7 separate regions of the Homo sapiens genome follow, and regions 2, 3, 4, 5, 6 and 7 are each linked to region 1. Evidence: promoter capture Hi-C in 16 types of primary human blood cells and fetal thymus (Javierre and others, 2016). All regions are on one chromosome and are shown on one strand. The core of a region is centred on a gene start or on the middle of the fragment in contact, and the rest is flanking DNA. Distances in the headings are between cores, read along the strand shown.

Region 1 (3,542 bases), core at 584-3,083:
TATGTTATATTTTTAAATAAAGGAAACTGGATTAGGTTTAGAAAAATCTAGAGGGAAAGGACGACAGTGAGTAAGGTGTCCCTGGTTTGTCACAAAGATACATGATACAGGGATCGGGAACAGGAATTTCCTTTAGGGATGAGAGATTCTTTGACCTTATCCCATCACTCCCAAGCCCCATCCACTCCAGTCACAATAGTCTACTTACTCCTCCTTCCAGCAAGCCTCTACTTCGGGACTTTTATAACCTCTATGGAGAATACTCTTTCCCAGATGGTGCAAGGTATGCCTTTCACTCTTTTATTTCCCCAAATGTCAATTCAGTGAAGTGTTCCTGACCACTATGAAACTGAAATCCCATCTGCACTCCCTGCCACCACTACTCCTGATACTCTTATTCCTTTTCCTTGCTCTATTTGTCTTCATAAGCTTTTAATACTCTATGTATGATAGACTCTATATTGTTGAAACTCTCTACCTCCATTGTATGTAAGCTCCAAAAATGCAGCAAATGTAGTCACAGCGCCTACTAATGCTTGATACAAAGGTAGCTCAATGAACACATACTGAATGAATATGGACCCTGCTTGAGGAAACTGAAGAACAAGTATAATAAAAATGATGCTGTAAAATTTGAACAAAATGAAGTAATGCACAGAGAATAATCAATTTGCTGCCCACAGAAGTGGTGACATTTGGGTTAGATCTTGAATCATGAGTTTGCCAAGTGCAAGAAAAAGGTGCACATTCCAAGAGAGTGGAAGATGGTAGGTCTGAAAAGGCCTTGCACATTTGAGAAACAGGGTACATTTGGAGTATGGCAGAGATAACAGTGACCAGATTTTAGCTAACCTTACAATATACACAACAATGGACGCATTATATCCAACTTCTCAACTCTAAATATCCTTTTCAGAATTATAATTGTCCAGTTACTTGTTTTATTTGCAGTAAAGTTAAGAGTACAGAATACAAAATAAAGTTAACACAGAATTACTGGCACTCCCTTTACTCACTACAAGTTTGAGCAGAGTTAACCTATATTTTTTTTAATCAAACTGTAAATTCAACGTATAACACTCAAAGTGAAAATACTGCTTTCAAAGGTCTCAACAGCGGGTATTATTCAAAGAAGTCAAAACTAAAAATTCTGCATGGTAGGAGAGAGCAGCTGGGTGGGGAAAGGTCAAATTCAACTGCTTATTTAGTAGCAGATACTCCCCATTTAACCAAATGAGTTTCTGATTGGGCTTGCATGCTGTCATAAATAATATTCACTTATTACTATGTTTTCAACTAGTCTATCGTCCTTTTATCCACATCACTCCTTCTTTCGGACACTCACCTTCGTTTTAAACCTAACTCAATTTATTTTCAGGATTCCTATTTGAGACAAGAAGCTCTTGTGTGTACACACACAGAGAAAACCTTGGAAGATTATATTCCACAGTTCAAGAGCCTGTGTAGTCAGTACTGGAGCATTTAAGCACAAGATAGGAGAAGCAGTGGACACCATGGTGTTTTGGGATTCCTACTGCCAGGGGGTGGGAACCCAGGGAGTTCCCTGGGTAGGCTCGAGGTCAAAGCTCAGGTTTAAAGCGAGGGGGGCGGGGCATGCCCCAAGAACCTCAGGGAGGTGTGTGGGCCCTAAAATGCAACTGGGAAAGAAAGGGCGCGGCCACTCGGAAAGACTCACAGTAATAAGCCACCACAGGGTCTCGCTTGTCATGCTCCTGAGCCGTCCTCAGATGATGCTGTATGCTCTTGAACTGTGCGGGGAGCGGGGGCAGCGGTGCAAGCGCGGCCATCTCTACTCCGAACTCACCACTTCCTACTCGCGCTCCACCGGCACTTCCGCTTCCGTCTGGGCGGTAGCGCGCACGAGCGTTCAGAGCAAATGCTGCCCACTCTTCCGTTGCTCAGCGACGTCAAGTCAACTACGGATCCCCAGCTGGGACAACCTCAGGGTGCTTGGCTCTCGGCGGTTAGAACCCACAGAAGACCCGAGCATTTTGGCGCTTATGCCGCGCATGGCGCTAGCGCTCTCTGCTGGTAGGAGGAAGGGTTTTTGTTTTGTTTTGCTTTTTTGTTTGGTTTGTTGTTTGTGGCAAAAGGAAGGATAGAAAAGGAAAAACAAGAAAATAATGTATGTTGACTGGGAGAAAGTATAAAGGCGAGAATTGCCTTTGGCGTCATTCAGGAATTACCACTTCCAGTTAATATGCCACATTAATATTCCATATAGCAGTGTCCTTTAGAAGCCTTTTTGATTTTAGAAACTTTAATTTCAATACTTGCATGAGAGAGAAATAATGTGTTTAAATTGTAAATTAAATTTTTCTATGTTGACATACTGGATAAAATAATCAGATTTCGCGCCAAATTAAGCTAAACATATGAAGCTTAAAGAAGATTGAACTTTTGTTCTCAGCTGGCTAGTACGTATTTTAGTGAATGAATAATCTGTAGATCACCTTTTTTTTTTCTGGAGAGTGATTAACAATTTGTAAAGTATTTTCATATTTATTATCTTGTCTTAATGTAAGATAGGGTGTTTGGGACGTTTTCAACGCTGGTAACTCTTAACCATTGTACAGTAGGCATCACTTTTCCTTCTACCCTCAATGACTTCAATTCTCTTCCTCTCCTCTCCATCCCTTACTTATATCTTTCAGGACTGTACACTTTATTTACTTCCTCCAATAACCTTCTTTATTTTATCTCAGTCCTCAGTTTTGACAATTCATCTTAAAACTAGTTTTCACTGAAATCACACTATCCCCAAGAGCCAAAATCTCCAGCTCGGAAATTCCCCTCTGCCTACTATTTTCTGATCACTCTCTCACCCCCAGAAGAAACCGCTCCATGTCCTCATATTATCCCACTCCACATACGTTGCCTAGACCTATTTGCAAAGTCCATCATCTTATTCTGGGTCGGGCTTTTTTACTCAGCCTGAAACTCAGTTCTGTCTTCTTCCCCAATCTCAGCGGCATATTTCCTACCACTGGAGAATGTATGGTTTCTTTCTCTTTCTCTTACTCCCACTATTTGGACTTTCCAGTCAAAAGTTGCTAGATTGGTAGAGAAATCAATGAAGAAAAGCAGAGTTGGATAACCATAACTGTTTTCTTTCTATACTCACAACTTTTCATTTATTTGTTTCCTATTACTTCTTGATTCTCAACCGCAGCTGCCCTTAAAGATCAACTTTAAAGCCCACTCCAGGCATTCTCACTTAATTGTTCTAGGTGGGATCCTAAATGTCAGTATCTTTAAAAGGTCCTCATGTAATTTTAATGTTACGTCTAGGGTTAAGGACCAGTGCTGTAGTCCACAGATGGTGTTTCAAACTTCTCTCGCTCTATTCAAGCTAGGCACTCAGCCCCAATTTCCTTGGTCTACAACAGCATTTCCTGCTATTGAGATTAAGGCCACCACCAGATATGAATTATTTTGCCTTGCCTCTACCACAACTTAAAGTAATAATAACTAGCTAGCAGCATTTGCTGAGCATCAACTATGTATCATGCATGTTTCTA
Region 2 (3,542 bases), core at 663-3,162, 1.9 Mb before region 1:
GAAAGCAGAGGCCCAAGAGTCAATAAAGTGGAGGACTCTGAAAATGCAAGTAAAATGTGACAACCAATAGTCTAATCCTGGAGAAGTTTGGGGTTTTGAGCTGAAGTCACAGGGATTAGCTTTTGCAAGGAGAACCATTTTCTCAGAGAAGAAAGAAGAAAAATAAATAATGGAAAGATGCAAAAATATTTGTGAAAGCTCCAGTGGGAAGTATTTCTACTTGAAGAAGAAGGCAATTCACTCTGTTGAGAATGAGGAGGAGGAAAAGTTGAGATCTTGGATGCAAAAGGTTTAGAATTGCAGAGGTAGAAAATGTAATAAAGAGATGATATGGTTTGCTGTATCCCACCCAAATTTCATCTTGAATTGTAGCTCCCATACTCCCCATGTGTCATGGGAGGGACCCAGTGGGAGGTAATTGAATCATAGGGGCAGGTTTTTCCCAGCTGTTCTCATGATAGTGAATAAGTCTCACAAGATCAGATGGCTTTATAAAGGGCAGTTTCCCTGCACACTTTCTCTTGTCTGCCACCATGTAAGACATGACTTTTCTCCTCCTTTGCCTCCCACCATGATTGTGAGGCCTTTCCAGCCACGTGGAGCTGTGAGTCCATTAAACTTCTTTTTCTTTCTTTGTTTTTTTTTTGAGACAGAGTCTCGCTCAGTCGCCCAGGCTGGAGTGCAATGGCACAATCTTGGCTCACTGCAACCTCCATCTCCTGAGTTCAAGCAATTCTCCTACCTCAGCCTCCCGAGTGGCTGGGATTACAGGCACCTGCCACCACACCCAATTAATTTTTGTACTTTTAGTAGAGACGGGGTTTCACCATGTTGGCCAGGCTGGTCTTGAACCCCTGGCCTCAGGTGATCTGACGGCCTTGGCCTCGCAAAGTGCTGGGATTACAGGCTTGAGCCACCGCACCTGGCCTAAACCTCTTTTTCTTTAGAAATTACCCAGTCTTGGGTATTTCTTCATAGCAGTATGAAAATGGACTAACACAAGAGATGATGAAAAAGATGCTAAAAAGCTGTATGTGCTCTTCTGAAATTATATTCAGAGTAGATCCAATCAACATACTCTTTTGATGTCCCAGTAGCACGTAACAATTTGAGAAAGTAACAAAACAAGTGAATGAGGGGAGATTTCTGACTGGAAATGGAGAGAAGTCAAGGAAATGAAGAGTCATGCTTATGGCGGTAAGGAAATAAGTGCACACACGTACACACAAAACCACAGCAACAAAAACTGACCTATAGTGAGTGGAGAGGTAAGGGAAGTCAGAATGGAGGTAATGAACTAAGAAAGTAGGAAGAGGTTCTAGGGATTAAAGGTCACAAAGACATTTTTTAAAATAGGAAGCAAGACAAGGTGGGCAGAATAAGAGGCTGTGGCAACAAAAGGGAATTCTATATCCTTGGAGTAATTTATTCATTAAGGTGGTCCCTTACATTGGTAACTAATGAGTTCCTGGAAATGTGTTTAAAGGCAAAAAACAAAACAAAAAAAAAAATAGAAAAAGAAAAAAACAACAAAACCTGTAGATGTTAGAAATATTTCTCATTACTAGAAAAAAATTTTGATTAGAAAATTTCTCATGATGGTCTCTGTAGGTCCTGGCTCCCTCAGGCTTGAGCGGCCAGGGCTGCCAGTGAGAGTTCTAGCCTGTCAGCCCTCACTCTGGAACCCAAGGCAGGGAGATGGCTGCTGGGGTCAGGCCACCCATGTCCCAGGCACCTGGGTCGATTAAACCCAACTACCAACATCATGCCGTTGTTTAGTTGGAACAGGGTAGGGGGTGAGGATCTTCATCTTCTGTACCTACAGAGGATTTGATTGTATTATTTCACCAAAGAATTGAGGCTGTGTCTGCTGGAACTAACCCCATTCCCCAACCCAGGAGAGCAGGTTCTAGGCACTGGGACATGACCCCTGAGCCTCCTTCATGAGTGCCGTCTGTGTGGAGGCAGAGGTCCAAGAACATGGTTCTTTGGCATGGGGTGGTGGGCGCTGGGACCACAAGCCCCCGGCGTCTGTGCTTCTTTTGATGAGTGGCTAACAGCAACACCCATCACTCAATGGTTGGTGTCATCTCTTAGATCATGACCCAAAATGGAATTTGGTGTATGAAAGGTAGTTGCAGGTTATGGGGCAGGGGGTGCGGTGTGTATTAATAAACAGTGCACAGCTGTACTGATGGTATATAACCAAAGATCTTGTACTTGAAAGTTAAGGACTGCTGGATGCGCTAGTGACATCTGCAAATGAGGGATGTTGTGACTAGGTATACAACTAAGGAAGGCTGTACTCTCAGTCTGGGATTGGGGAATGACTGCTTTAATCTTCAAGCTCAAGGGCCTCACATCTTCTGTAGGTCTTTTAAGAAAGCACCCACAGACCAAACGTGGTGGCTCATGACTGTAATCCAAGCACTTTAGGTGGCCGAGGTGGGCAGATCACCTGAGGTTAGGTGTTCAAGACCAGCCTGGCCAACATGGTGAAACCCCGTCTCTACTAAAAATACAAAAATTAGCTGGGCATGGTGGCATGTGCCTGTAATCCCAGCTACTCAGGAGGCTGAGGCAGGAGAATCGCTTGAACCCGAGAGACAGAGGTTGCAGTGAGCTGAGATTGCGCCACCAAACTCCAGCCTGAGTGATGGAGCAAGACTCCGTCTCACAAAAAAAAAAAAAAAAAAAATTGTTGGGTGTGGTGTCAGGTGCCTGTAATCCCAGCTACTCAGGAGGCTGAGGCAGGAGAATCACTTGAACCTGGGAGGTGGAGGTTGCAGTGAGTCGAGATGGCGCCATCGCACTCCAGCCTGGGTAACAAGAGTGAAACTCTTACTCAAAAAAAGAAAAAGAAGAAGAAAAAAAGTAATGTGAGTCCCTCCTCCCTCCTCGCTCTCACTTTCTGTTCTCCAGCCTGCCATTTCTAGATCAGTTGGTCTAAACCTGTTCTGCTGTGAAGTGCCCAATAGCATGGGCAAAAGAACATGGGCTCTGGTGTCAGCTTGCCTGAATAAGCACTAGAATGGTAGCTGTTATTCCTTTCATTAGAGCGATTTCCTTCCCTCCTCTAAACTTTGGAAAAACCATCTATTCCTTGAAAGTTGTATGTATCCTCCCTCTCTCACTTCCTTTATTGAATTTGTTTTTGAAAGTCTTTGAAAGTTCAATTCCTGCATGAAAGTTCACTACCTGCCTGAAGGAGAAGTAGTGAACTTGCCTTCTTTATCTAAATGTGCAATCTCCCATCTGCCTACCCCATCCGAGCCACAGCTGGACTCACATGTTGTGGGGTGGGAGTGTGCATGGGTGCAAGGTTTATTTTCTGTCTTAACAAAATATTGTTGCTTTTACAGTAATACAATAACAAACTATTTCACAATTTAGTTAGAAAATTTAATGCACTTTTGTAGTTTTATTCATGTTTCTGACAGATATAAAATCTTTCTCTCTGAAGAGGCAACGGAAAGGATGTGTCTCATTCTCCTTCTCCTTATTCCTATGATCCTTTTATTCTTCTCTGTCCTTTCCTGCTT
Region 3 (3,542 bases), core at 635-3,134, 1.9 Mb before region 1:
CCTATTGTCTTGATTAGTCTAGCCTTATAGTAGGCGTAAAAATCAGATAGCATAAGCCTTCCAACTTTGTTTTTCTTTTTAAGATTATTTTTTCTCTTCTAGGTTCTTTTCATTTCCATATAAAGTTTAGAATCAGCTTGTCAATTTCTATAGCAAAGCTGACATGGATTTTGCCCATGTCAACTTTGACATGAGGACTGACTGATGACCCTCGAAAATATTTGTGTCCTAATCTCTGGAATCTCAGAATGTAACCTGAGTTGAATAAAAGGGTCTTTGCAGATGTGACTTAAGTTACGGATCTTGAAATGAGGAGACCACCTTCAGTTATTTCAGTGAGTCCTAAGTACAGTGACATCTACCCCTATAAGAGAGATACACACAGGAGAAAGCACATGGCACGCACAGAGAAGGCGTTGTGAAGATGGAGGCAGAGATTGGCATGCTGTGGCCGCAAGCCAAGGAAGCCGAGGAAGCCAGGGAATGGCAGTGGTCACCAAAAGCTGGAAGTTGTGAGGAAGGAATCTCCACTAGAGCCACTAGATGGCGCCTGCGGCCTTTGCTGATATCTTGATTTCAGACTTCTGGCCTTTCGGACTCAGAAAATAAATTTCATGTTTTATGCCACCAGTTTGTGGTAATTTGTTATGGCAGCTATAGGATAAAATATAGCCACTATCTGGCTAAGGAAGTTCCATTCCATTCCTAGTTGTCATTTTTTTCAGGATGGGGTGTAGTTGTCAAATGCTCTTTTTGCATCAATTGAAAATAACATTTTCCCCCTCCATTATTTTGTTAATGTGGGCATAATCTGTATGATTGTCTGCCCATGTGGTATTAATTTTAGCCCCATCATAGCTGTTACCCCTGGTAACACCTGTTCCTGAAAGTGTTGGGTCCTGACACATTGTATCAACCTATAGATGTGTCAGCATGAATTTTCTTGTTCTGCATTTGCTGAAGAAATGTTAAGAAGTCATTCAATAGTCTGCAGAATAAAATGGAATCTCCAAATACTTAGAGAAAAAGTGTGATTATGGAATTTGTCCTGAGGGGTTCTGTCTACTACAGTGACCACGCTGGCAACCCTTGGGTCCAGTTTGACCTGGAGAAATACTTCATGTGGCCTCTGCAGTGTTTCCAAAATTAGAAGATTTTATATTAAAATGTTAGATAGCATACTTCCCTTGAAAATTATGCAGATGTGGCAACCCTGCCCTGAGTTCAAACATGGCAGCCATTGGCCTGAGCTGAGCATCTGCCCCTTACACAAAGAATGTCCTTTTCACTTTACCACAGTCCCATTGTTCCTCACTGTTTTAAACTTTGTAGAGATTTGAGTTTGCAACCCCTGCTCCAGAAGCTTTGCTAGGGCATGCTGTAATGCCAAAGCATGCGTCATTGAGGGAAAGCTCAGGAGAAAAAGAGTGTGTCACAGCTACCAGGTCAACATAGTCATGTTCAAAGAGACCACTGTGGAAATAACCTAAAGATAAAAAAGGATTTCATATAGTTCATTACCAGTGAGAAAGAAAGACTGCTTGACTGACTTCTGGATAAAGATGGCACAAGGAAGCACTAAAAAAATCAAAATTAAAATACTAAATCATCCAGGCATGGTGGCTCACGTCTGTAATCCCAGCACTTTGGGAGACTGAGACAGGCGGATCACCTGAGGTCAGGAGTTTGAGACCAGCCTGGCTAACATGGCGAACTTCCCCCCAACCCAGCACCCCCATACCAGCCTCTACTAAAAATACAAAAATTAGCCGGTTGTGATGGTGCACGCCTATAATCCCAGCTACTCAGGAGGCTGAGACAGGAGAATTGCTTGAACCCGGGAGGCAGGTTGCGGTGAGCCAAGATCATGCCACTGTACTCCAGCTTGGGTGACAGAGCGAGACTCTGTCTCAAAAACAAAACAAAACACTAAATCACCCAAAGGAAAGAAAGCAACAAAAAACTTACATGCTGCAACCAAAGAAGAAAAAAGTACAACCTTATAATGTAAAATTTGAGAATTGATAGCAAAAACAAAGAGAACAGAAGATTCTATGGAGGCGTGCTTTGTCTCCAGATGAACCTATGTCTGCCCAGCCCTCCACCCACCGCTGCAAGACATGTTGAGGAAAAAGATGATCAGACCAAATCCTAAGAATTCTCACAAACGTCCCCCAATGTGGAAAGGCAGGGCACACCTGTGAGATGTTGAGGAACCTTTGCATACCACTGTTGGATCTTGCCAGAGGCAGGAAAGTTTCCCACTTTCTGGGATACTGTGCTGAACTGAGCAAATGAACTGAAACTCTGAGGCATGGGATGTTCCCTTGGCTAGCTTGAAGTCCAGCTGCCAGAGGACTTAAAGGAATCTCAGATGTGAAGGTTGAGTTCCTCCAGCAAGCTTTATACTCTGTCTGAGCTGAATTCCACACATCCCCTTTTCCCCCACCTCTCCTTGTCCGAAAAACCTTGGATCACAGAACAAGTAGATAGAAACAACATTCAGCCCTGAAAAAGCAGCGTATTCAGATATATAATATACATGGGACATTAGAAAAGAACATAATCTATAAATTGGAAGATCATACTGTATGCTGGGGGGAAAAATTGATCTAGAATAACTGACACAGAGGCATAGCCCAGATAAGAATACTAAAGGGTATATTAATGTTAAAGAATTCTTCAGGTATCCAAGCAGAAAAATCAAGCCACCTCCAAGGGGAAAATTACATGGGATTAAGATCTTTCCACAGAAATCTTTGAAGCATTTCTCTAATGACCAGTAATGATGAGCTTTTTTCATATGTTTGTTGGCCACATAAATGTCTTCTTTTGAGAAGTGTCTGTTCATATCCTTTGCCCACTTTTTGATGGAGTTGTTTTTTTCTTATAAATTTGTTTAAGTGCTTTGTAGATTCTGGATATTAGCCCTTTGTCAGATGGATAATTGCAAAAATTTTCTCCCATTCTGTAGGTTGCCTGTTCAGTCTGATGATAGTTTCTTTTGGTGTGCAGAAGCTCTTTAGTTTAATTAGATCCCAATTGTCAATTTTGGCTTTTGTTGCCATTGCTTTTGGTGTTTTAGTTATGAACTCTGCCCATGCCTATGTCCTGAATGGTATTGCCTAGGTTTTCTTCTAGGCTTTTTATGGTTTTAGGTCTGATGTTTTAAGTCTTTAGTCCATCTTGAGTTAATTTTTGTATAAGGTGTAACGAAGCGGTCCAGTTTCAGTTTTCTGCATATGGCTAACCAGTTTTTCCCAACACCATTTATTAACTAGGGAATCTTTTACCTATTGCTTGTTTTTGTCAGGTTTGTCACAGATCAGATGGTTGTAGATGTGTGGTGTTATTTCTGAGGACTCTGTTCTGTTCCATTGGTCCATATATCTGTTTTGGTACCAGTACCATGCAGTTTTGGTTACTGTAGCCTTGTAGTGTAGTTTGAAGTCAGGTAGTGTAATGCCTCCAGCTTTGTTCTTTTTGCTTAGGATTGTCTTGGCTATACGGGCTCTTTTTTGGTTCCATATGAAATTTAAAGT
Region 4 (3,542 bases), core at 560-3,059, 1.7 Mb before region 1:
TCAGATATTTTACATTTCCTAAGATGAGCAAGCAGGAGGCAAAATGCAGTTTGCGGTTATGAAACGGCAGGATCTTAGAGAAAGCACAGTTTGAGCATATATCGGTGCCCTAAATAACATCATGCCGCATTGTAGCTGGTGCTTTGGTAAATATTTACCATTATTCTACAAGATTTGCTCGTTTAAACATCTCAAATAAAGATCTTTGTCTTCCCAATCAAAATAATGTGAATGATGTAAAAATCACCAATTGTACTGAAAATTAACTTATAGATTATTTCCCAGAATATCAGTTATCTGAGAATAACAGCTGGCTAACAATTTATTAAAAACTATTAACATAGCAAGGCGTGGTGGCTCATGCCTGTAATCCCAGCACTTTTGGAGGCCAAGCTGGGAGGACTGCTTAAGTCCAGGAGTTCGAGACCAGCCTGGGCAACGTGCTAAGACTCTATTTATTTAAAAAAAAAAAAAGAAAAAAAAAACTATTGTCTACCTACAAACTGACTGGCTAAAGAACAGGACCTACTTTTTGTGTGGGCAATAGAACCCTCTGGGGTGCACTCTCATCTGCTGCTAAAGGATCTCGTTGGCTCCGGTGGACCAAGTGAAAAGACACAGCTTTCTTCTTCTCTATAAAGGGCTTTTTCTTCCTGTGAGGCTTCAAAGGAACAAAATCACAACAATTAATTAAAACAGAACAAAAAGACGGAGAATAATTCCATAGTCCACACATGCATCTTTAGTAGTCATGTTAAAGATACTTTTTAAAAATCTACACTTCTAGGGCAGGCAACATCAGCTGTGTTCTGCAGAATCCATACTTAACCTTCCTTCAACAAACATTCCTTGAGCACCTACTTTGTGCCAGACCTTGTTATGGGAACTGAGAATACAGAAGTGGGAAAGTCAGATAAAGTCCCTGTTCTTAGCAAGAAAATCAAGATAATTTCCGGTGAAGAAAATATAAGACAGTGACGTGAAAATGCCTTAAAAGCTACTTTACACTGGCTGCTCAGGGAAGGCCCCTGGCCGACTGAACTAGAATGACAAGAAGCCTGCCACAACATAATCTGGAGTAGACAGCTCCACACAGAGCATCTACCAACCAGTAAATAAAATCACGACACAAACAGCTAAAGTTTAATAAGATCCATCACCTCTTTCTACATTCTTACTTCGCTATTCAATTTTGATTCTCTAAACTGGGAAACCAATTAAGTGGCTTTACTTTGGGCCCAACCTTATGCTCTCCCACAAGTTCCCTTTCTCAGAGGAAACAGACAGGCAGACACCTGCCACTCCAACGCTGAGGGAGACCAGCAGCTCCCTCTGCTCGACCCCAAGAAGCACAGGGTTGCGCGTTTGTGTCGGCAGTCACCAGCTTTTAGTTAACCGAAATCACGCAGGGCTGCAGGCTCCCAGGGATAAAACAAAAAGGCCATTCTCCTCTCCGGGCCACATCCCAGGGAGGCTCGGCGGTGGGAGACTGTAACTTGCAAAGAATGCCCACGGTGGTGACGTTGGCCCATTTCGGGGTACCGTGCCGCAAGCAGCCTCTGGCATGACCCAGACCCGGGCCGCAGTAGCCAAGGTATTACCGGAAGCAGCCTGGCCTCTGCAAAACCACAGCGCTCGGCCGCCGAAACAAGCAAGGCTTGCTCACCATGCTGCAGCCGCGCGGCGCTCACCCCCAACAGGGGCGGCGATGACACCCTCGAAGTCCGGCGGGGAGACCAAGGTCCAGCTGAAGGCCGCTTCTGTAGGCCTCACCACACGTGCAGCCCCAGGACCCGGCGATAACGTCACCCAGCCGGCCGTGGAAACGGACCAATCGCCGAGGAGCTGATGGGTCGCGACCGGAAGTTACATAGGCTCGCTGCGTCTCCACGATCGCGAGAAGCCACCGGGAGGTGGGGCTAGCTCGGCTCCCACCCCTGGGCGGGCTGTACTTTTCCGGCCTTTAGTCTCCCGCCGGGCAAAGGGAATCGTGGGGGTCCTTAACGTTGAGGCGCCACAGAGGGGTTTCTGCTTGTGGACGAACCTTTTATAGCTCCCTCTACGGAGACCAGAGGGGACGAATCTAGCATCCCCCTTGACTTGTGTCCCTTACCTATTCCCAACCATAAAAAACAAAGCCGCGGACACGGAAGGGAGGCGACCACCCCGCTGGGGTGCTGGGGTCGCCAAGTTTCAGGTTCCCTCTCCGGGTGGGGGCGGAGTCGGTTGCCGTAGCAACGGAGGCTGGGGCCTTGCCTTTATAGACTGCATCAGACTTGATCAGGTTATATTTTCCACTGTTTCATGAACTGCTTTCATCTGCCCTGTTAACCAAACCCCCGAGACTCTGTTAACTGTAGAGGCATTTGAACTAATAAAATATATTCAGAATCTCTGGTGTTTGAATGTTAACTTTCTCCCCCTGTTTAAACAAATAGGCTATAAGCACGCATTCTTAGGAAGATTTCAGGCCGGCGTTGGCGTACTCACATAGCTTTTCTTGGACGAAAGTGTGTGGTAAATGCAGTCACTTTCATCAGCAGACCTTTTTTTCAAATTTGTTTCCCCAACTTCCCAGTTTCTGGTGACCTCTCAATGAATGGCTTACCCTGGATTGTGTCTTTATGCCGTAGGCATTATCACTGTAAGTATTTGTGGAGTATTATTCTTTTATTACAGTAAAAATTATAGAAATAGGCCAGGCGCGGTGGCTCATGTCTGTCATCCCAGCACTTTGGGAGGCCGAAGCGGGTGGATCACCTGAGGTCAGGAGTTCAAGACCAGACTAGCCAACGTGGTGAAACCCCGTCTCTACTAAAAATACAAAACTTAGCCAGGTGTGATGGCAGGTGCCTGTAATCCCAACTACTTGGGAGGTTGAGGCAGGAGAATAGCTTGAACCCGGGAGGCAGAGGTTGCAGTGAGCTGAGATCATGCCATTGCACTCCAGCCTGGGCGACAAGAGCGAAACTCTGTCTCAAAAATATATATATATAGAAATAATTTAGGTTAGGACCATAAAACTTGTCTTAGGATATTGCTTTGTAACAGAGATAATACATAGCACTCCTATGTGCCAGAGATTCGTTGTTATTATTCATTATATAGAATTAAAAGATCCAAGGGGGCAGTTTTCATTTCCTTTCAATCAGTTGTACTTACTGCTGTATCATCAGGGGCCTGATGCATGGGGCATATATGCTCAGTAAGTATTTATTTAAATGAATTAATGTTCTGGCACTTTATCTGAATCATCTCATTTCATCCTCACTGCAACACTATGAAAGAGACGCAATTATCTTCAGCATCTTACAAATCCTAAAAATGAGGCAAGAGAAATACAAACTAAGTACTAAGCCCCCCAGCTGACTGAACGGACTCCCTTTTGGCCAAGGGGACCCAGAGTAACCTTGAAAACTGAGTTCTTGCTTTGCCTTGTTATATCCCCTCCCTCACTAACCAGGATCAGGCTTTCTTCCCTAAGGGATAAATAGAAACCATCCCTTTCAAAAGACTCCACCACTGATATCAGCCTGTTGCTG
Region 5 (3,542 bases), core at 458-2,957, 1.4 Mb before region 1:
TGTTGGCCAGCACGTAGGAAATGTGCCTGTTTGACACTGATTTTAAAAAAAGAGGCATCCAGTACAGCTTTTCAAAGCAAAATGTTTCTAAACTCTATTAGTTTATTTAGCTATTTTCATTGAATACCATTTCCAAAAGGTTAGGGATAAAAACTGAAGATGAAATAAGCATAGTTTTAATCATATAAGAGTGTTTAATACCAAAAATAAAATTAAAAAAAATAACAGAAACAAAAAAACTGTACCTCACTGCTTTACCACTCTCTTTAAAGTGATGACTTATGTAAGATTATAAAAGAAATAAATGAAAATTTATCAACTAGCTTGTTCCGCCCATCAGTGCTAGGAACACTGCCTTCAGCAGGAGCCCAAATGTGGGCTGGGATCTGTCTCATCTCTGGCCAGTGTCTTCCTCCTCCTTGCTGTGCCAGGAGCCCCTCTTAAAGCCACAGTGCCACTTGGAGGGCTCTTTATACATTGCAGATTCACTTACAGAAGGAGGAATTGTTATTCAAAGGCTTTAATACATAATGAAAGCTATCCACATTTCATAAATTAGACAAGCTAGGGAGCTAAACGACCTTTGTAACTGAATTTGTCCCTATTTCATCACTAGTAGTCTTTAGATGCATGAATGTGGATTTTTCATGGTAATGGAAACAGGTGTGACACTCTGGTTAAAATCAAAACTTCCTGAAGGCATTCCTTGAGACAATACCCATCCCCTTCTAACTAATTATTTTTATAATTGCAGTTTTCTTTTGCTATCTTCCCCATCCCCCAAATATATTAAAAAGTTTTATTTCTCAGAGTTTATATGCAAAACATGCACATAAAAATATGGTATGTTTTCTTATGAAATATTTTCCCAAAATACTTGGCATTAGAACTAAGTGTCTTTCACTGACAATAGCATTTCCTTAATATAGGCAGATAAAAATGACTGCAAGTAAGAGAAAGATCAAAATATTATCTGAAAAGAAACGGCAGAGATCAAAATTGACGATACACGATGAAAATGAAATAAGAGAAAGGCAAGGAATCCAGGTAATCAGCAGAGTGAGGATAAATCACCATCTGATAGTGAAAGTAGGCCTGCTTTTAAAGTCACTTAAAAAAAAGAGAGAGAAACAAAAAACAGGAAGTTAGTTTTGATGGTCTCTAAGGCCTCTTCTGGTGTGGAATGTGATGGTTCTGTGAAATTTTTTCTTTGTTTTCATTTTAAAATCGAAGATGAATTCATTTTATGAGAGAGGCCAAAGCTGGCTCATAGTTTTGAGCCCATCCCACCATTTCCCTCTAGAGTACCAGGCTGCAAAAGTAAACACCTCCTTTACCATGCTCTCTTCCTCCCACTCTTCCTTTCTTCTTCTTACTCTAAAACAAACTCATAGAAGTGGAGTGTAGGATGGTGGTTATCAGAGACTGGGGTGCGATGGGGTGGATGGAGAAAGAGGAGATGTTACTCAACAGGTCCAGGGTTTCAGTCAGTCAGACGGGAGGAGGAATAGGTCTGGTGCTGTATCGCAACAGCATGGTGACTATACATATTTTGGAATATATACATTTTGTGGAATAATGAAAAGAGAGCATTTTAGGTGTTCTCACAACAAAGAAATGATAAATATTTGGGCCAGATGCAGTGGCTCACGCCCGTAATCCTAGTTTTGGGAGGTTGAGACAGGCAGATTGCTTAAGCCCACGAGTTCAAGACCAGCCTGGGCAATATGGCAAAACCCCATCACTACAAAAAAACTACAAAAATTAGCCAGGTGTGGTGATGTGCACCTGTACTCCCAGAGACTCTGGTGTCTGAGGTGGGAGGATCACCTGAGCCCAGGGAGGTTGAGGCTGCAGTAAGCCATGATTGAGCCACTATACTCCAGCCTGGGCAACACAGTGAGACCCCATCTCAAAAAAAGATAAATATTTGCAGTAATAGATAGGCTAATTGTCTTGATTTGATCATTCCACAATCTATACATGCCTTGAAACTTCATGTATGCTATAAATATATGCAATTATTACTTGTCAATTAAAAATACAATAAAACATAAATAAATTAAAACAGCTACTATGTCCTAACAGGCTCAGGCTCTGTGCTGGGCACACAGAAGTGAATAGGAATCTCTCTAATCTTGGACTAGCAGCATAGGAGACAGGGGTGTACAAACTACAGTGGAGAGATAAAGGAGGGAATAATTGACCCTTTTGGGGTGAGTCAGGAAAAGTTTCAGGACACAAGAAGTGGCTTATACAAGTGAGTAGGGATAAAAAAGAGGAAGAGGCAGGGAAGGCATCCCAGGCAGGGAAAATACCATGCATGCGGGCCCAAGGCAGGAAAATGGAAGCGAAGAGGAGGGAGGTGAGTATGGCTGGAGGCTTGGAGGAGAGCGGGGACGTGCTGGAATGTGAAACAGAGGCCTGTAAAAAGATTTAGGCACAGAAGAAATGTGATCAGCATCACTGTCTTTTGCTTCAATTTTGATACCTCAATTTGATCCCTAAGTAATGCATACGTTTAATTTGTGGTGGTGTTTTCAGGATTGAAATTCGTGTATATAAAGCACTGGGTGTAATGAATGGCATGTAGTAGGAGCACTGCTCTAAGACATTCAGGATACACATTCTATTTCTTTGTTTCTATAAATCACACCTAGCTCAGCTCCTTCTACAAACATTGCCTAAAAGACATTTTCCAGGATGCCTTCCTTGTCTTGAACCAAACAAGAACTTTTGGGCTTATGAGTGTAGGAAGACAGGAGGGGACTATCTTGAGTGTTAGCCTCAGCAATTGCTGCTTCTGTGACTCTAACTCTCTCATTGAAGGCAAGTGATTCACTAGGGACTCCTTCCATCCCTGCTACACTCAGCCATGGGTTTTTTTTTCTTTTATACCTTTATTTTTAATTGACACACAATAATTGTGCATATTCGTGGGGTACATAGCGATGTTTCAATACATATAATGTATATGATCACATCAGGGTAATTAGCATATCCCTTATCCCAAACATTTATCATTTCTTTGTGTTGGGAACATTCAATATCCTCCTTCTAGCCATTTGAAACTATATAATATGTTATTGTTAACTATAGTCATCCTATAATGGTATAGGACACTAGAACTTATTTCTTCTGTCTAGCTATAATTTTGTACCCTTTAACAAATCTGTTCCTATTCCTTCCTTCCCTCTACTCTTCCCAGCCTCTAGTATCTTCTGCTCTACTTTTCACTTCTGTGAGATAAACTTTTTTTAGCTTCCATATATGAGTGAGAACATGCGGTGTTTAACTCTCTGTGCCTGGCTTTATTTCACTTAACATAAGGGACTCCAGTTCCATCCATGTTGCCTCGAATGACAGGATTTCATTTTTATGGCTGAATAGTATTCCATGGTATATATACACCGCATTTTCTTTATCTATTTATTTGTTGTTGAACACCTAGGTTTCACAACGTCCTTTGAGTAGATCTCCAAGACAACCCAGAAATCCCTCCTTCCATGTCCTCACTCCTCAGAGATTGCTGGGGAGTGCTA
Region 6 (3,542 bases), core at 401-2,900, 1.4 Mb before region 1:
GATTAGGTAAAGATATATTGGTGCCAAAGAGGATTTGACATTTTTGACTGAGACTAGTACTATGCCAAAATAAAACAGCTAGTTTTGAGTCATTTTATTCTTTGCTATGAATAACTTCATTTTCTACAGATAAACCCATGGTTATTTTGACCTAGAATAATAAAGATACTTCTCATACTAAACAAAATAGAGAACAGATTCCTGATGATCTGAAAATGCATTAACCCTGTGGAAGATTCTTTAATTACCTGTGATTTCCCTTTGTATCCTCTGCTCCTCACTCTCAATTTGACTTTCGGGGAATCAACAGTATAGATGAGTATATGTGACTGTTTTAAATGTCTATTAAAAACCAAATATAAATGATAGACCTTTACCATAAATGCCTCTTTTCATCTCTCAGCATGAAATTCAAGTCTAGACTGTAGGGGACAGTGCAGGTTCAAATTAGATGATGCTAGGAGAAATTCCTTATTCTTGTTCAACTTTCTGAATGTCCCAGTTTCTCTTTTGCAGTTCAATTTAAAATGTAATGCCCGTAGTCCCAGATACTCAGGAGGGTGAGGTGGGACGATCGCTTGAGCCCAGGAGTTCAAGGCTGTGGTGTGGTATGATCATGACACTGCACTCCAAACTGGGTAATGGAGCAAGACCCTGTCTCAACCAATCAATTAATCAATAATAAATAAATAAATAATAAAAATGCTTCAAGGATTTTAAACCCAACTAAAAGGTATAATGATAGGGGCTTGTTATCTCACATAACAGGAAATTTAGAGTAGTCGGTTCATTGATGAAATCAAAGACACGGGCTCTTTCTTTCATCCTCAGCCTGGGGACTTGTCCCTTCATGGTCACAGGATGGCAGCCAGGCACCATAACTTCACACAACCCTGCCCAAAGGCAGGAAGGCCAGTGTCTCTTTTCATTAGGAGGGAAACCATTTCCACAGTCCCCAAAGTTGGCTTTCCCTCAAGTTCCCTTGGCCAGCATGGATCTCACATCCCTGTCGCAGCTGTAGTGGAAGCTGGGAAATTACGTAAATACGACTTTTGGGCAGGCAAACAGCATGCCTGCCGCATAGTATGCCCTTCAATTATTTCTTCTTAGCAGAGTCTCCTGATCGTCTTGGGAAATATAGTGCTGATTATGGATTTGCTTATCCTGTAGAAATACTCATATGAAAGGAATGGTGATAGAAAAAGCAGGAGGTGGGTCAAAAATGGGGGTTGCATCTATTTCATGAGGATAGTTACTGCTGTGTTTATCTAAAATGTGTAGATGTGCTTTTCCTCATGAAGTCTTGCTTACGCAGTTTAGGGTCAATATACCATTGCTTAGAATGAATGCGTATAGCAAGTAATTGTTGAAGGTTGAGTCCATTTATTAAAATAACAGCATCTTTTTAATTTTACTTTTGCCTCCCTTTCTGTCCTGTGCCTCCAAAGTGTTCTCTACTACTGAATATAATAGATGCATATTATGTTTTAGGCATGTAGTCTTCCTTTTAGAAGCCCTAATCACTTATGTTACAAGGGACAATGTGTAAAGACATATACTACATGTTGTGATTTAAAAGTGAAGAATTAAAAGAGAATGGGGCTGGACACGGTGACTCATGCCTGTAATCCTAACACTTCGGGAGACTGAAGCAGGAAGATCGCTTGAGCCCAGGAGTTTAAGACCAGCCTGGGCAACATATGGAAACCACATCTCTACAAAGAAAAAAAAAATAGCCAGGTGTGGTGGCACGTGCCTGTGGTCCTAGCTACTCAGGAGGCTAAGGCGAGAGGATTGCTTGAGCACAGGAGGTCAAGGTTGCAGTGAACCATGATTCCATTACTGCATTCCAACCTGAGTGACAGAGTGAGACCCTGTCTTAAAAAAAAGAGAGAATGGGTAGCTGAGTTGCCTAGAATGCTCTAGTTTATGAGCTGAGTGGATATCACAGGGGGATAGGTGGAAAATGAGAGGGGGTTTAGTTTGCATAAGCTATCTTTAAAGCCAAGTCAAACTAATGGGGAAGTGAGAAAGAGAATCTGGGTCCTATCTGTGTGAGGGGTAAATGGTAAGGGGAGCTGGAGCAGTTCTTTTAAATATGTGTGTATGTGCTGTTTATGCACTCTTTCCTTTCCTCCCCTTAGGTGGTATTGGCAAAAGGAAAAGATACCGAAGTATGTGGAATTTATGAAAGATAATTACCCTCCTAGTTTCAAATATGAAGATTTTGGACCACTATTTACAGCAAAATTTTTTAATGCCAACCAGTGGGCAGATATTTTTCAGGCCTCTGGTGCCAAATACATTGTCTTAACTTCCAAACATCATGAAGGTAAGTCAATCCAGCCTATGGAAATTGCTGACAATGGTTAAGAAATGAAAAGTTGTTCTTTTGGAAGAAAAAACTAAAGCAAGGTCTAATTTTCTCTTCGGAGCAACCATAAGTGGTGACTGGCACTTGCTTATGACTTAGGGACTGCACATTCAACCCAAATTGAGAGATGTTAGGAATACAGAAAGGATCATACCCGCCACGTAACAGAGGAAAGATGGTCACGTTTTGTCACATGTATTTTGAACAATATTTCCAAGATTTACTTAAAGCTGTTTGTTGAAGGGAGTGTGGGTTGCAAGTCAAAGTTCATCTTGGAATTGCACTCTTTCCTTCCCCTTCTCTGTAATGCATCCTGTGAATGCATCATGGGGATTATACTGCTATAGTCTTGCATCATTACGACACACCTGGCTGCACTTTTAGCCAACTCTTAGCTGGCCAAATGGTGCAAATAGTGGATGAACTGATAGTGATGAAAGTGATGAAAGTGACCCAGATCACCTGGAGGGAAAAGGATTGTGGAACTGTAATGGTTTCCAGAAAAATCAGAGGTGGTAGAAGAATATCTAAACCCCCACACATTTAAAATCCATTCTATTTTAATAGAATGGATTCCACCCATTACCACTCCAGTATTTGTAAGGCCAGGGAAGCATTAACAAATTGTTTTTGTTCCAACGGCTTGTTCATTCATTAGTTTCTTTTGCATGATCATCTTTGCCTTGGTATAAAAAAATTTGCACTGGATGTGGTCGCTCATGTCTGTAATCCCAAAATTTTGGGAGGCCGAGGAAGGAGGATCATTTGAGCCCAGGGGTTCAAGACCAGCCTGGGCAACATAGTGAGACCCTGTCTCTACAAAAACAAACAAACAAACAAAAACTAAAAAATTAGCGTAGTGGTATGTCTCTGTAGTCCCAGCTACTTGGGAGGCTTAGGTTGGAGGACTGCTTGAGGCTGCAGTGAGCGGAGATAGGCTTACTACACTCCAGTCTAGGTGGCGGAGGGAGATCCTGTCTCAAAAAAAAAAAAAAAAAAAAACGGGAAACTTTGCCTTATTGTTTTCTCCAGGGATGGGATGGGAATAGGAGAGGAGAACCAACACAAAAAATCTGGAATGATCATAGGATATTTTTCCCTTTGGCCACATTCTGGTAGCTTCATGATTTTCTCCTGTAGATATTTATCCTGCTGAGATGAATGTCTA
Region 7 (3,542 bases), core at 450-2,949, 1.3 Mb before region 1:
TTTGCTTTTTACTAAATGAACAAGTTAACAACAACAAAAAAGCACCAAGTACACGACCAATTAAAATGAAACTTAAACTAGCATGCTCTCTCTTCCGAAATAATAACAAAAATGCTATGGGATAAGTAAATTAATAGCTGAAAAATATTAACTCAACAAAATAATATTTTACTAAAATAGTTTATTGCAATAAGATTTTCACTGTATTCAAAATCAATACAAAGTAAGTTTTTAAAATTATGTACAAATGATTAAAACTATGTAATTAGGTGAGTAAACAGCATCAACACAATTTTAGCCTCTAAACCAATATGTAACTTTCTAAGGCTTTTTAATAAAACCTTAAAAAATATAGTGAAGAAATAGCAAAGAACATAGTTCATCATAGTTGTTGGAATTCACTATTTCCATAAGAATAAAAAAGTCCTCCATCAAGGTATATTTGAGACAAATAATTTATTATTTTGAAAGGTAGCTGGAGAAAAGTCTGATTCACTTCTGTTTACAGCAGTCTAGGGAACATTATAATTAAATAGCATATTTTTCCAAACTTCACACATCCTAGACCTATGTCTCCAACAGATTTTTCCTCAGTATTAATATGGTAAAGTACACTGAATTTTGTATTTTTATATATATATATGTATATAAAATATCTATATTGATTTTTAGTCAGTTTGGAACAAATGTCCATGTGTAACAAATTATTAACAATTCTGATATTTGCACGTGTATATATATATGCCCACAAAAACTGGTCTGTTGATGAATCTAAAAAAATATATTAAGATGCCAAATAAATTGATTTCATTATGAAATGAAGACTTTTATTAAGAATATATTTTATCAGGCATTTTGATAACAAACTGTTACTCTAAGTATAGGTGATTTACCCAGTGTATTTTAAAAAGTAAATGAATCCCACTGTAGTTTTTCTTGAAGGAAAAATCATTTCTCCAGTTGCTGAGGGGTACTAAAAGCTTCATACACATTAGCAGCAAAGTCTTTCACTTGCTCCATTGTCAACAGATCCTAGCAAAGATGATAATATAACATTATAGTTTGCAAAACATATAGCTAATTTGAATTAATTTCTGCAATCAAGCGATGAATTCAGCTCTAAGTTTTGTGGTAAAGGCCAAGAGGCAAACCATTTAAGAAAATGAGTAGTTTTTCTTGTAATAAATTCTAGGAGATAGTTATTATTTAGGTTCTTATATGAGGGATGATGGTATCATAAGCGTTCAAGTGTGACTTTGAGGGACAAAAACCCCAAATAGTCTTCAAATGAATTTTGGTGTATGTCAAGTGCTAGATAGGTATCTGTTGAATAAATAATTGTAGGAGTAAAGGTACTTTTGCTGGAAGCTGACATAACACGGTTAAGGGTGTATTACTTTCTAGAAGATCTAACATACGGTATGAATATGTGTAGTAAGTGCATATTTTACATATACACACATACATGAACCACACATATACACTATAGTGTAAGGGTTATTAACACCCCAAGGGATTTGCGAATGTGAAGATAAGAAAAAAATTACACCTTCATTTTCTTTAACTTCTAACCAAAATCTGGTATCTCTTTCAATTATGAATGTAGGCAACAAACTGTGATAATATTAGCAGGTTGTATGACTTTGTCTTCAATAGAAATCATAGGCATTTTCATGTCATATGACAGTTGTGGAAGTTATCAGAACTCTCATTATATCTTGGTATTTAATGCATGAATAAAGAAGCAATACCGCTATATCATACACTTAATTTTAAAAGAAATTTTGAAAACTATATATGATTGGTTTCCTTTATAATATTATGTATTTTATTGTATGCACTTATAAATATTGTTCTGAGAAGGGGTCCATAGGCTTCACCAGTCTGTGAAAGGGTCCATGATAGAAAAGGTTGACAGCCTCTGAGAGTGTCAAAGAAATGGGAAGTAAACCTGTCCCTAGTGATCTCTGTTTCTTAAGTATCGGAAAATCCAAGTGAGGTTTAGACATGTCCTAATCTCAATCAATTCATGGTTAAATTATCTCATCAGAGAATTTGATGTTATTTAGTTTCAAGTATTCAGTCTAGGTGTTCAATGAAACATAGGTTTAGATCAATGTTTCTCAAACCAGAATTTACAGACATACTTTCAGGGGCCCAAGAATTTGAGGGGAAATTTTGTGTTTTGATTTCTATGAAAATGTAAAGAAAACTCAAACACGCTCTTGATTATTGAGAAGATAAAATATATAACCTACTATTGTTCCTGATTTTAGGGCATTTGTTTATATTTATGTTCTTATTGGCTTTAAGTAACATTACTTTAACTGTCTTGTGCTAATGAGAGAAGAACAGAGGCAGAAAATCTTTCAAATGAAGACCAAATCATGTAAAACACATGATACAAATGAAGCTTTCAGAATAGTTACAGTAGATAAAAAAAAAAATACTAGCAAGTCAGCTTCAGAAAATGCAGGCTGAATGCTCAACAGCATGAACAGTAGCAGACAGGTCCACATTCACTTTGGCACAACAAATTATTAATAGTAGACGTCAGCCATATTATAGAACAATCTTTTTTTGTAATTTAGATTCTACTTGACAATAAAAGTGCTTTGGTTTTGAGTTACGAAAAAGCTCTAATCTTAAGGATCTTATTGAGTTTTTAATTTATACACTAAAAATGATTTAAACACTGGAGGACTGTGGTATATGTGTGTACATATGTATGTGAGGTGTATGGACAAATCTGAGAAATACTACCATTGTAGTGCAAAAGCAGCCATAAACAACACATAAACCAATGGGCATGCTGTCACCCAATAAAACTTACAAAAGCTGGTGCTTGGCTGGATTTGGCTCATAGGTCATAGCTAACTTATATCAGCTTTATAATAAAGACTTTAATCTGTTCAAATACTGTATCCTGATGCAGCTTCTAGGATGTTTCAGTAGTCTGAGATAAAAATTATGTATCATAGGGTTGGTTCACACTATAAAAGCTCTTTCCTTATGTTATCTGAAAGCAATCTGAAATAATTTATCTCCTGCTTATGTTATTTGAAAGCTATTTGAAAATAATTTGAAAAACCACCTTTCTCGATTGTTTTCTGATTCTCCCATTTCCTACCTTTACCAACTACCATCCTAATATCTTCTACCAAAGGGGTCAGCAAAGTATGGCCTGCAGGCCAAATCCACTGCCGCCTGTTTTTGTATATAAAGTTTTGTTGAAACAGCCATACTCTTTTGTTCATGTACGTTTCTGACTGCTTTCACACTGCCAGAGCAGAGTTGAATAGTTTCTGTAGAGAATGTATGTTGCATTAAGCCTAAAGTATGTACTATCTGGCCCTGTACAGTTTGCCAAACCCCTGTTCTACAGCATTCCCACCATAGGCTCTCCTACACACCATTGTAGTTGAAGTAGTAGCAGTAATTCGAAAGGACTAATTTTATGTAAATTAGCATTCTAATCAAGGCAAAGGCTTTATAAAAAGATAAGTGGAAATAGTAAAGCATATGACAATTTATTAAGAAGA

Evidence for each region. Contacts are between HindIII fragments. The CHiCAGO score rates a contact against its expected background, and 5 or more counts as called.
Region 2: a contact is called between a fragment that was not itself captured here and the fragment with the promoter of VTA1 in region 1, in 3 of 17 cell types (non-activated CD4 T cells, total B cells and monocytes). The highest score is 8.5, in non-activated CD4 T cells.
Region 3: a contact is called between a fragment that was not itself captured here and the fragment with the promoter of VTA1 in region 1, in 1 of 17 cell types (fetal thymus). The highest score is 6.4, in fetal thymus.
Region 4: a contact is called between the fragment with the promoter of LTV1 here and the fragment with the promoter of VTA1 in region 1, in 1 of 17 cell types (total B cells). The highest score is 5.4, in total B cells.
Region 5: a fragment that was not itself captured here is called in contact with the fragment with the promoter of VTA1 in region 1 in 5 of 17 cell types (non-activated CD4 T cells, fetal thymus, total CD4 T cells and 2 more); the score reaches 6.4 in non-activated CD4 T cells.
Region 6: a contact is called between a fragment that was not itself captured here and the fragment with the promoter of VTA1 in region 1, in 3 of 17 cell types (fetal thymus, activated CD4 T cells and naive CD4 T cells). The highest score is 6.8, in fetal thymus.
Region 7: a contact is called between a fragment that was not itself captured here and the fragment with the promoter of VTA1 in region 1, in 1 of 17 cell types (monocytes). The highest score is 6.7, in monocytes.

Annotation. Positions count from the first base shown.
Region 1 is chr6:142,145,554-142,149,095 of GRCh38, reverse strand. VTA1 (vesicle trafficking 1) reads right to left here and starts at 1,833. Exons shown (of 8, transcript NM_016485.5): 1 at 1,697-1,833. The coding sequence starts at 1,808. NMBR (neuromedin B receptor) reads left to right here and starts at 1,974. Exons shown (of 4, transcript NM_002511.4): 1 at 1,974-2,052. RefSeq lists enhancers at 1,132-1,652, 1,907-2,046, 1,810-2,104. The HindIII fragment of the contact is 1,973 bases long and covers 432-2,404 here.
Region 2 is chr6:144,066,652-144,070,193 of GRCh38, reverse strand. No RefSeq gene overlaps it. Among named protein-coding and RNA genes, the nearest start is that of SF3B5, 27 kb to the left of the region's middle. RefSeq lists an enhancer at 2,944-3,243. The HindIII fragment of the contact is 3,826 bases long and covers 1-3,542 here.
Region 3 is chr6:144,010,603-144,014,144 of GRCh38, reverse strand. It overlaps a transcript of PLAGL1 not described here. Among named protein-coding and RNA genes, the nearest start is that of PLAGL1, 4.1 kb to the right of the region's middle. The HindIII fragment of the contact is 1,038 bases long and covers 1,366-2,403 here.
Region 4 is chr6:143,841,605-143,845,146 of GRCh38, reverse strand. It overlaps LTV1 (LTV1 ribosome biogenesis factor), which reads right to left and starts at 1,809. Exons shown (of 11, transcript NM_032860.5): 1 at 1,667-1,809; 2 at 530-661. The coding sequence starts at 1,669. RefSeq lists enhancers at 1,306-1,375, 1,566-1,775, 1,956-2,005. The HindIII fragment of the contact is 13,446 bases long and covers 1-3,542 here.
Region 5 is chr6:143,526,194-143,529,735 of GRCh38, reverse strand. No RefSeq gene overlaps it. Among named protein-coding and RNA genes, the nearest start is that of FUCA2, 16 kb to the right of the region's middle. The HindIII fragment of the contact is 5,428 bases long and covers 1-3,542 here.
Region 6 is chr6:143,506,027-143,509,568 of GRCh38, reverse strand. FUCA2 (alpha-L-fucosidase 2) reads left to right here. Exons shown (of 7, transcript NM_032020.5): 2 at 2,145-2,332. LOC124901417 (a long non-coding RNA gene) reads right to left here. Exons shown (of 2, transcript XR_007059798.1): 2 at 2,239-3,542. Among named protein-coding and RNA genes, the nearest start is that of FUCA2, 3.9 kb to the left of the region's middle. The HindIII fragment of the contact is 4,251 bases long and covers 1-3,542 here.
Region 7 is chr6:143,486,633-143,490,174 of GRCh38, reverse strand. It overlaps PEX3 (peroxisomal biogenesis factor 3), which reads right to left. Exons shown (of 12, transcript NM_003630.3): 12 at 1-1,032. The coding sequence ends at 949. Among named protein-coding and RNA genes, the nearest start is that of FUCA2, 23 kb to the left of the region's middle. The HindIII fragment of the contact is 1,433 bases long and covers 983-2,415 here.